Linked DNA regions of Homo sapiens: region 1 is linked to region 2. Evidence: promoter capture Hi-C in human tissues and cell types (Jung and others, 2019). All regions are on one chromosome and are shown on one strand. Each heading gives the region's core, a stretch centred on a gene start or on the middle of the fragment in contact. The rest is flanking DNA. Distances are from core to core; before and after follow the strand shown.

The links. Contacts are between HindIII fragments. The study calls those that stand out against the background at their distance.
Region 1: the fragment with the promoter of PMM1 here is called in contact with the fragment with the promoter of ST13 in region 2 in 1 of the 25 tissues and cell types used here (liver).

The regions. Positions count from the first base shown.
Region 1 is chr22:41,588,541-41,593,775 of GRCh38, reverse strand. PMM1 (phosphomannomutase 1) reads left to right here and starts at 3,936. Exons shown (of 8, transcript NM_002676.3): 1 at 3,936-4,057. The coding sequence starts at 3,971. RefSeq lists a silencer at 3,588-3,737 and an enhancer at 4,132-4,811. The HindIII fragment of the contact is 27,075 bases long and covers 1-5,235 here.
Region 2 is chr22:40,853,073-40,858,811 of GRCh38, reverse strand. It overlaps ST13 (ST13 Hsp70 interacting protein), which reads left to right and starts at 2,173. Exons shown (of 12, transcript NM_003932.5): 1 at 2,173-2,381. The coding sequence starts at 2,272. XPNPEP3 (X-prolyl aminopeptidase 3) reads right to left here and starts at 1,664. Exons shown (of 10, transcript NM_022098.4): 1 at 1,567-1,664. The coding sequence starts at 1,630. RefSeq lists enhancers at 1,359-1,818, 1,829-2,048, 1,676-2,445. The HindIII fragment of the contact is 7,743 bases long and covers 654-5,739 here.

The DNA.
Region 1 (5,235 bases), core at 2,687-5,186, 730 kb before region 2:
GGTCCGATCCCTGCCCAGCGGGGAGGCAGCTAAGGCCCTGTGAGAAATCGAGCGCAGCGCCGGTGGGCCGGCACTGCTGGGGGACCCGGCGCACCCTCCACAGCTGCTGGCCCGGCTGCTAAGCCCTTCACTGCTCGGGCCGGCACGGCCTGCCGCTCTGAGTGCGGGGCCCGCCAAGCCCACGCCCACCCAGAACTCTAGCTGGCCCGCAAGCGCCGCTTGCAGCCCCGGTTCCCGCCCGTGCCTCTCCCTCCACACCTCCCCGCAAGCCGAGGGAGCCGGCGCCGGCCTCGGCCAGCCCAGAGAAGGGCTCCCACAGTGCAGCGGCGGGCTGAAGGGCTCCTCAAGCACGGCCAGAATGGGCGCCGAGGCTGAGGAGGCACCAAGAGTGAGCGAGGGCTGCTAGTACGCTGTCACCTCTCATCACCTTTCATAGTTCTATCACGTGGGGTTTATATCCTCATTACATATAAAGAAACTGAAGCCCAGTGAGGAAAGGTGACCTGTCCAAGTCCTTGTAGTTAGCCAGGACCAAACTGCAGTTCTCCTGATTCCAACTCCAATGATCTCTCCAGGACACCATAGCTACCCAGTCAGAAAAACAAGAATTGTGCCTGGGGATCTGGTGCGGTGGGTCAGGCCTGTAATCCCAACACTTTGGTCACGCCTGTAATCCCAACACTTTGGGAGGCTGAGTCGTGAGGACCATTTGAGGCCAGGAGTTTGAGAGCAGCCTGGACAAAATAGTGAGACCCTATTCTACACACACACGTGCACACGCACACAAACACAATGCAGATTTTCATGGCTTCGTAGCATTTCATCTTCTAGATGGGTCTTAGTTCATTTAAACAATTCCATATATTTTTCCTTTTTTCTATTTTCTTTTCTTTCTTTTTTTTTTGAGACGGAGTCTGCTCTGTTGCCCAGGCTGGAGTGCAGTGGCGTGATCTCGGTTCACTGCAAGCTCCGCCTCCCAGGTTCACACCATTCTCCTGCCTCAGCCTCCCAAGTAACTGGGACTATAGGCACCCGCCACCACGCCCAGCTAATTTTTTGTATTGTTAGTAGAGATGGGGTTTCACCGTGTTAGCCAGGATGGTCTCGATCTCCTGACCTCGTGATCCGCCCACCTCAGCCTTCCAAAGTGCTGGATTACAGGTGTGAACCACCGCGCTTGGCCTTTTTTTTTTTTTTTCCGAGTCAGAGTCTCGCTCTATGGCCCAGGCTGGAGTGCAGTGGTGTGATCTCGGCTCACTGCAAGCTCCGCCTCCCGGGTTCAAGGGATTCTCCTGCCTCAGCCTCCCGAGTCGCTGGGACTACAGGTGCCGCCACTACGCCTGGCTAATTTTTTGTATTTTTAGTAGAGACGGGGTTTCACCACGTTAGCCAGGATGGTCTCGATCTCTTGACCTTGTGGTCTGCCTGCCTTGGCCTCCCAAAGTGCTGGGATTACAGGCGTGAGCTACCGCGCTCAGCCTCTTTTCCTATTTTCTAAAAGTTGAATTGCTGACTCATATGATCTGCATCTTTTTTTTTTTTTTTCTTGAGACAGGGTCTCACTACTGTTACCCAGGCTGGAGTGCAGTGGGAAGATCTGGTTCGTTGCAGCCTCAGCTTCCTGGTGATTCTCCTACTTTAGCCTCCTGAGGGACCACAGGTGCCTGCCACCATGCCTGGCTAATGTTTTGTATTTTTAGTAGAGACAGCATTTTGCCATGTTGCCCAGGCTGATCTTGACCTCCTGGGTTCAAACAATCCACCCACCTTGGCCTCCCAAAGTGCTGGAATTACAGGTGTGAGCCACCGCATCCAGCTCTACAGTTATTTTTTATTTATTTAGTTAGTTAGTTAGTTAGTTAGTTTGTTTGTTTGAGGTGTAGTCTCCCTCTGTCTCCCAGGCTGGAGCGCAGTGGCATCATCTCGGCTCACTGCAACCACCGCCTTCCAGGTTCAAGTGATTCTTCCGCCTCAGCCTCCCAAGTAGCTGGGATTACAGGCTCCTGCCACCATGCCCGGCTAATTTTTGTATTTTTAGTAGAGACGGACTTTCCCCATGTTGGCCAGGCTGGTCTCAAACTCATGACCTCAGGTGATCTGCCCATCCCGGCCTCCCAAAGTGTTGGGATTACAGGCGTGAGCCACCGCGCCCAGCCTGTTACTTATTTTCATGTGAAAAGCAAACCTACAAAGCAGGTGGTGTTCATCCCATTTTATAGGTGAAGACACAAAGCCTCTGAGAGGTGAAGTGACTTGTCCAAGGTCCCATAGTGGTGGAGCTGGGAAGGCAACCTGGAAGTGACTCCAAAGTCAACGCAATGGTTAAATAATTGTGAATCGAATCTGGGAAGGTTGGCTGGGAACGGTGGCTCATGCCTGTATTCCCAGCACTTTGGGAGGCTGAGGCAGGCAGATCACCTGAGGCCAGGAGTTCGAGACCAGCCTGGCTAACATGGTGAAAATACAAAATTACTACTAAAAATAAAAAATTAGCCGAGCGTGGTAGTGGGTACAAAATAATCCCAGCTACTCGGGAGGCAGAGGTTGTGGTGAGCTGAAATCGTGCCATTGCACTCCAGCCTGGGCAACAAGAGCAAAACTCCGTCTCAGAAAAAAAAAAAAAATTAGCCGGGCGTGGTGGCGCACTTCTGTAGTTTCAGCTACTCAGGAGGCTGAGGCAGGAGAATCACTTGAACCTGGGAGGCGGAGGTTGCAGTGAGCCGAGATCATGCCACTGCACTCCAACCTGAGTAACAGAGTGAGACCCAGTCTCAAAAAATAAATAAATAAATAAATAAATCGCCCTGTGTCAAAAATAAAATAAAATAAACATAAAAGTAAGTAAAAATACAAAAATTAGGTGGGCATGGTGGCACACGCCTGCAGTCCCAGCTACTCGGGAGGCTGAGGCATGAGAACCGCTTGAACCTGGGAGGTGGAGGTTGCAGTGGGCAGAGATCCCGCCACTGCACTCCAGCCTGGGCAGAGCGAGACTCTGTCTCAAAAAAAAAAAAAAAAAAGAAGAATCTGGGAAGGTCTCCAAGCAGGTAGACCCTGAGAGCTGGGTCTTATGTGTGGACAGAAGGAATAAGGCTCGGGGAAGGCAATTTGGCAAAGTCCAAAGCCTGAACAAAGGCCTTCAGGAGATTTCTTTTCTTTTCTTTTCTTTCCTTTTTTTTTTTTTTTTTTTTTTTTGAGGCTGGAGTGCAATGGCGCGATCTCGGCTCACCGCAACCTCTGGCTTCTTTGGAATCAAGCGATTCTCCTGCCTCAGCCTCCTGAGTAGCTGAGATTACAGGCATGCGCCACCACGCCTGGCTAATTTTGTATTTTTAGTAGAGACGAGGTTTCTCCATGTTGGTCAGGCTGGTCTCGAACTCCCGACCTCCGGTGATCCGCCCGCCTCGACGTCCCAAACTGCTGGGATTACAGGCGTGAACCACCGCGCCCGGCTCAGGAGATTTCCTACAGCTCAAAATTTGTAAGGCAAAGAGATGGCCACAAACCTTGTGAGAGTGGATGGGGAGCGACCTCGGCTCTCTTAGTCCCGCCTGGCCCACTAGACACTGCACTGCATGGTAGAGGCCCCGCCCGACCCAGCCCCTTAATCGGCCTGTTGCAATCACTATCAACCCGCCAATTCTGGCCCCGCCCCTGTCTTCCGGGTTCACCCTCTCACTTCCTGCGGGTCCCAGGCTCAGGCCCCTCCTCCGCCTTGTTTGGAGCAATCCAATCGAACCTGGAGGGCTCCGCTCCGCCCTATGCCGCGCTCCCCTCCTCCACGAGCAATGAGAATCAGCTCAGGCCCCGCCCCCGCTTCCGCCCGCCTAGACCACGCCCCTTCTTCATTTGGCCAATCAGGCAGTCCACTGGCCCCCGCCCCCTAATGCCCCGCCCCGTCAGCACTTATCCCTGAGCTGCTTCTGCCGTTGCATCTTCGGGACTCCGCCCCGCGCGCGGACCTGCAGCCATGGCAGTCACCGCCCAGGCAGCCCGCAGGAAGGAGCGCGTCCTCTGCCTGTTTGACGTGGACGGGACCCTCACGCCGGCTCGCCAGGTAGGACCCTGAAGATTGGAAGCTCCCACCGGGAGTGTCACGCGGACACCCCCGAGGCTGAGTGTGGGGTCTGCAGCAGCGTGACCGTGGACACCCGGGGACCGAGTGTGGGATGCGGCGGTACCCGGCCCCCTGACATCCGGGGCCACCCACCGGGAGTGAGGGGACCTGGCCCTCACGTCACTGACCCCGCAGCGTCCTTGCCTGTGTTCTGCTTGGGAGTGCTGGGGTTGGATCCAGTACTGGAGGGAGGAGGCTGCGAGCAGGGGCCTAGCTCCCTCCCTCCCCGGAGGCTGTCACACGCCGCTAAGGCCTGGCTCACGGACGCCCCCGCCTCCTGAGCTGGGGATCCCACCCTAGTTCAGCCCTACGACACACCAGTGGTCGGAGCTGGCTTCTGAACCGGGGTTCCAGGCACACAAGCACACAGCCAAGCGTCAGTCATCATCTGGTGGGAGACAGGGCGTCTCGGAGTCTTCCCACCCCGACCTTTGCAGGCCTGGGACTGGGTCTAGTTTCTGAAGCCCCATCACCCACTTTACCTTCCACCCCCAGTCGTGGAGCAGAGAGGGCTTCTTTTCAAATTCGTTTATGAGCTCTACCCACCCGGATGTGAGAGGCTCCAGGCCTAGCCTGTTTGCTGTGAGGACACTGAGGAATAGTGAGGGTAAGAGTCTAGTTTTCTTCTAAAGACTCTCGCTGTGTTGAGCCTCTTACCTCTGCTCAGTTTTTCTCCCATTGGGTCTCATTGTGAGTGAGTCCCCAAAAGCCCCCTCACCAGCTGGATGCATCAGTAAGCAGGCTTCATTCATGCCCTCCCTGTGGGTAACCCACCCTCCAGTCTGGGGGCCTCAAGGACCAACCAACAGGTCTCCTAGCGTGGGGGAGCAGTGGGATGGGCTTTACTGGGCAGTGGCTGATGGGAACCCAGGTCTTAGCCTCCTCTCTTAGGTCCCGAATGCCCCTCCCCATCCTCTGTGGTGAAGTTGCCCTGGCTTGGGCCCTGGAGGCCTTCCTGCAGGGGTGGATCCGGGAGGAAGATAGCAGGACTGGAGCAAAGGTGGGCCATTTGCTTGTGGGTCACGCCTGTAATCCCAGCACTTTGGGAGGCCATGGTGGGCAGATCACCTGAGGTCAGGAATTCTAGATCAGTCTGGCTAACATGGTGAAACCCCGTC
Region 2 (5,739 bases), core at 924-3,423:
ACGCCTGTAATCCCAGCACTTTGGGAGGCCGAGGCGGGTGGATCACGAGGTCAGGGGTTCAAAACCAGCCTGGCCAAGATGGTGAAACCCCATCTCTACTAAAAACACATAAATTAGCCAGGCGTGGTGGCGGGCGCCTGTAATCCCAGCTACTCGGGAGGCTGAGACAGGAGAATCGCTTGAACTCGGGAGGTGGAGGTTGCAGTAAGGCAAGAGATCGCGCCACTGCACTCCAGCCTGGGCGACAAGAGCAAGACTCTGTCTCAAAAAAAAAAAAAAAAAAAAAAAAGCTTCTCCAGCCATACTAAACGATTGCAACGCTTAGTGCTGGCCACTCCGTTTTAGAGTTCTGTGCCTTTGCAAGTGTTCCTTCTGGTAGTATGGCTCCTTTAGTCAGGCTGGGGAGAGCCTTTCAAATAAAAGCAAATTCCAGGCCTGGGGCGGTGGCTCAGAGAGGAGGGTGGATCGCTTGAGGCCAGGAGTTCGAGATCAGCTTGGCCAACGTGGCAAAACCTGGTTTCTACTACAATTACAAAAATTAGCCAGGCGTGGTGGCACACGCCTATAATCCCAGCTACCTCGGGAGGCTGAGGCACGAGAATTGCTTGAACTCAGGAGGCAGAGGTTGCAAATGAGCAGAGATTGCCACTGCACTCCAGTCTGAGCAACAGAATGAGAGCCTGTCTCAAAAAAAGACTGAAAAATTGCACATCTTTCTTTTCACCTAATCCCACGGAGAGTTGTCTTTCTGCAGCTTTACTATGAGAACTGAAGAACAAGTTCTGTGCACTGGACAATAACTTTTTATTTTTTATAGTAAGAAGTCGATGTAATTAACATTCCATTTTAAATGAATTCAAGTATATCAACATAAACATATGCCAAGACATAGCTTTGATGTCAAATACCATACGTTCTGGTTCACACATTGTTCATATATTGACCCAAAAAACTGAAATACGATCCAATGGCAGATCCGCCTGCAAGGAAGGTGATTCAGTTTTCACTGATTAAGCTTTATGTTCATCAGATTAATTGCTCGCAATAGAGGACACCCTACAAAAAATTATTCTCCTTATCCTTCGTCTTGTCTTTGCAAACAGGACTTTCAGACACAGAACGCCCCAGAAGTATTTCGAAACAGTTACCTCTCCTAAGAGGAGCTGCTGAAAGAATTTGTTACTAAACATGCTTCGTGTATATTCTGGAGCAAGCTCTCACGCCTAACAGAAACAAGAGCTACTTGATGTGAGACACTTTGTCACTTAAGTGTGATAATTGCCACAACTTCGGAGTCCGAGTAACTTGGAAGACAGCCCCTCTGGGGGATGGCACACTTTTCTCTCTGCAGTCATTTCGGCTTCACAAAATACCTCAACGGTAGAGAACACACTGGGCCCACCCCTTTCCAGGAGCAGCCGGTATAGAAGAAATCCGCGGAGCACAGAGGGTTGGGGAGCGGAGGCCCCACCAGGAGAAGGGTCAGCCGAACCAGGGATCGCCTGAGACCAACTTGGGTCCCTCCAGGGGACACCATGGGAGGAGACCGTGGGAGAAGAGTCTAACCTGAGAGGCCGCGGACGTTTGCTACAGCGGGAACCAGCTTGGGGGCTGAGAGCAGCCAAGGCATTACGGCCTAACTCACGCGTCGGGAAGAGAAAGAGGGTAACGACGGGGAACGCAACCGCCTGCAGGGCCGCGTCGCCAGGAAACCGGGCCAGCCGCACCTCCCCTTCCGGCGGAGGCGGCTCGCGGGCCTTCCTTGCGCGGCGGCGCAGGTTGTGACGTCATGCCCCGAGCTGGGACCGACCCTCCGGCTCCACGCCCTTTTTTTTTTTTTTTTTTAGGTCCCGGGCGTTGAGCTCTACTCAGTGCACGCAGCCACACAATATGCTCTTGGACGTCGCCCCCTGGAGGGGATGTTATCTCCCGCCTCCTTGAAGTCGCCCATTTCTGGGGTTGCCCCATCCAGGGAGCTGGTTCCTAGTTAAGAATATGAGAATGTATGCGCAGGGAGGCAGGCAACAGCACGAACAGCCACGCTTCTAGAAGATTCTAGGGAGCGCGCAGGAGCAGCGCAGAGGGAGTAGGAATGAGCAGGCGGAGGACCCGAGGTCACGAGACCGTTGGGTGGGAGGAGCCAGCGGCCGGGGAGGTTCTAGTCTGTTCTGTCTTGCGGCAGCCGCCCCCTTCTGCGCGGTCACGCCGAGCCAGCGCCTGGGCCTGGAACCGGGCCGTAGCCCCCCCAGTTTCGCCCACCACCTCCCTACCATGGACCCCCGCAAAGTGAACGAGCTTCGGGCCTTTGTGAAAATGTGTAAGCAGGATCCGAGCGTTCTGCACACCGAGGAAATGCGCTTCCTGAGGGAGTGGGTGGAGAGGTGAGACCCAGGCCTGAGGACCGTTGGGGGCGGGGGAAGCACGGCCCCAGGGGGGAGCCAGGCTGGACCTGGCTCGGTCCGGCGGGCGAGGCGGGGTCGCTGCCCCTTCTTTGCCCGGGAAAGGGAGGCAACTTCGAGGGGTCATGGAAGATCGCGAGCCTTGGGTAGTACAGGAGCCGCGGGGAGCAGGAGGCAGAGCTGGGTTCCTCGCACCCTGAGGTTGCCCAGGGGTGTATCTTGGGCGAAATACAAAAACAGGACTGCGGATGCGTGGACACTGGAGACGCGAGGAGTGAAAACTGCAAGACTTAGATTTTGCGTGGGGTTGTTTTTCTTTCAGTCTTGTGTGCCCTGCTCAGGTCTCATTGGTACATAGCAGTTCCTTTACGCACTATTCCTTTACGTCGTGTTATAATAATATAACACTAGTAAGTTAAAAGTTACAAAACTAGTAAGAATAAAAATGATAACTGTAAAAATGATTGTTTTTACCTTACAGCGTTTGTAGCTGCGTAGGATTAATTATCTTGAGAATCACTTATTATACCTCCGTTACTTGGCAGTGTTATCACTCCAAACACGTCTGAGAAAAATAATTTCTTAAGGCCTGGCATGTTTCCAGGATATAATCTTGTTGTCTTTAACTGTAGAGTACTTCGCTACGTGCAAGGAGTTAATTGACAAGGCATTGTGCCTGGTGCTAGGAAACAGTATAAGTACTGTCTATTTAGACGAATAAATAGAAAAGTTCGTTTTGATATTTACTATATAATAGTAATTAGCATTTTATGTGTTGAAGGAGCACCGAAGAGAAAAAGTGACAGGGAAGTCTTCCCTAAGATGACTTTTTAAAAAATTATTACTAATGGGGAACTGAAAAGATGACATACAAATTGCACTAAACAGGGATAAATAGCAACTATGCAGACCATTGCGACTCCTAAGAGGTGCTGCTGTGAACGTTATGTGTTTAGTGACTTTTGTCTTTTAGAGACAGGGTTTGGCTGTATTGTCCAGGCCGCATACAGTGGCGGGATCACTGCAGCCTCCAATTCCTGGGCACAAGCGATCCTCCTGCATCAGTCTCCCAGGTGGCTAGCAGTGCGGGATCGAGCCACCATACTTGGCTAATTTAATTTTTTTGTAGAGATGGGGGTCCCATTAAGTTGCCCAGGCTTGTCTTGAACTCCTGGCCTCAAGGGACTCCCCCGCCTCCCAAAGTGGTGGTATTACAGGCGTGAGCCACTTCACCCAGCGTGATATTTTTGTGTGGGAAGATGAGCTCATGATTACCAAATAGCTCAAAGAATATTTCTTAACAACAATCTGGTTCTAAGGAAAAAACTCGTTACAATCTGTCAGCGTTGTATGTTGTATTTTTTTCCTCTAAGAAGTTTTTCAATTTTTAGCTCCCCACCAATTGTCTAACTACTGGAAGACTTACTTATATGTGAAATTCTGAGACCATTTAATATTACTATGTTAATAGTAACTTTATGAATATTGGTAAGAAGTCTATTTTGCAAACTCCTCAACCGGGAAATGTCAGGATTAGGAATTGAGGGCTAGGTTTTAGTCGTTTTCTCTATTGAACAGCTTGATGATCCAAAAGCCTTAAGATATTTGTATGCTTTTATCCTAATTATAGGAAAGAACCTGCAGTTAATAAATTCTTTCTAAAATTCCAGGTAACGTAGACAAGTATCACAGGAAGAAAATAGCCGGCTCCAAGAGCTGGCTCCACTTTACATTAAGTGGATACAATGTTTTTGTTTCATTCTTACTAGTGAGGAAGAGGAGACACAGAAGAACAAATTAAAAGCATGTGTAAGAACAGTGTCCTCCTGACTTGTGCTGGAGTGATTGTGCCTATGTAGAGAATTCCACTTTAAGGTTTGCAAAATATTTGTCAGGCACTACTATCTCCCAAACAAAAACAAGAAATAGTCATATACCTTATTTTAACATAGGTAATTCCAGTTTTTCTTTCTGATTCCACTTACATTCTTTAGCCATCCTGAGTTGGCTGAAGTATGGGGTGAAGCATCATGGCATATGTAGGGACTTTATTCTGAACTTAAATTGAGATATTTAATATAGAAGCTTTTTCTCTTTATTTCTGTATTTAAACTAAGATTTTTATAAACTCTGAGGCCTTTGCGTTTGTGTCAGTTTCTCTCTCTGCCTTCATCAGTCTGCAGTTCGAGATTGTGGCAGATGGGGCTGAATGTGGAGACTTCTAGGTCCAGACGTCTTCCTAGGCCTGATGCTACTGTTAGGGTTACTCAAGTTGAAAACATGTGTTTCTCACAGGCTTAGCTGTTGAAGAACAGTACATCTGCCTATTTGCTATAATTGCTAGCATTGTTTATAGCTTAGTTTTATTTGATATAAGGATTTATTAGTTTAACCTTTTAAATTGCACAAAGAGAAATACTAAAAGTCTTTCTGAACTAGTTGTCAGTGAGGATCCAGGAGACTGTTCTTTTCAAGAACTGTGTTTTGAGATATTTTTGTTTTTCCCTTTTTAGAGACAGAAGCATTCTCCCACTCTATTTTCTCCCGTTTAACAATTTAGTATCTTGTATGTGGTTTCATGGCTTTACTTGATGGTAATTAAGATCGAAGAGAGTGTCTTTGTTTTCTACTCCCTAGTACAGTACGTGGCACATGGCTTTTCCTAAATGTTGTAAAGGAAATGAACAGAATGCATTTCTACCCTCAATATAGAATTTAGAGTGTAGCAACCAATTTTTTGTACATGTGTACAAATAACCATAGCACAAAGCAGATTAGAAGGTTATCAAATTAAGAGAAATGTGAATGAAGTTTTATGTGGTCCTATGTGAGAAAAGTCTCTACACTGGTCCTACTTGATTGTGTAACATAAAAAAGCCTGTAGTGCCAAAGTCTAAGTGGCAGTTTTTGGCCAGAAAGTAGCTTGTTCTAAGCCTTGGAAGCATTAATTGAAATTTCGTACCTATGAGTTGGTGTTTTCTTCCATTAGTTAACTAGAATTTGGGATGGGAGAAACTAAATCTAGCTTATGAGTAAATCCTCTTTTTTTTTTAAAGTTTTTATTTTTTTTGCAACAATTTCTAGCTCAGAAAAATTGCAGGTATGGTACAAAGGAATTTTTTCTGAACTAGTTGAGAGTAAGCTGCCAACATTATACCCCAACACCAGTGAGTGTGTACTTCCTACAAAGTCTTTACAATGCAAATACTAAACTTAGGAAACTAATGCTGATGCATTTATGCTATCTAATCCTCAGATTTATGTGTTGCATTTAGTTGCCATGTCACGTAGTCTCCATTCTGAAACAGTTCCTCAGTCTTTCCTTGACTTTCATGATCTT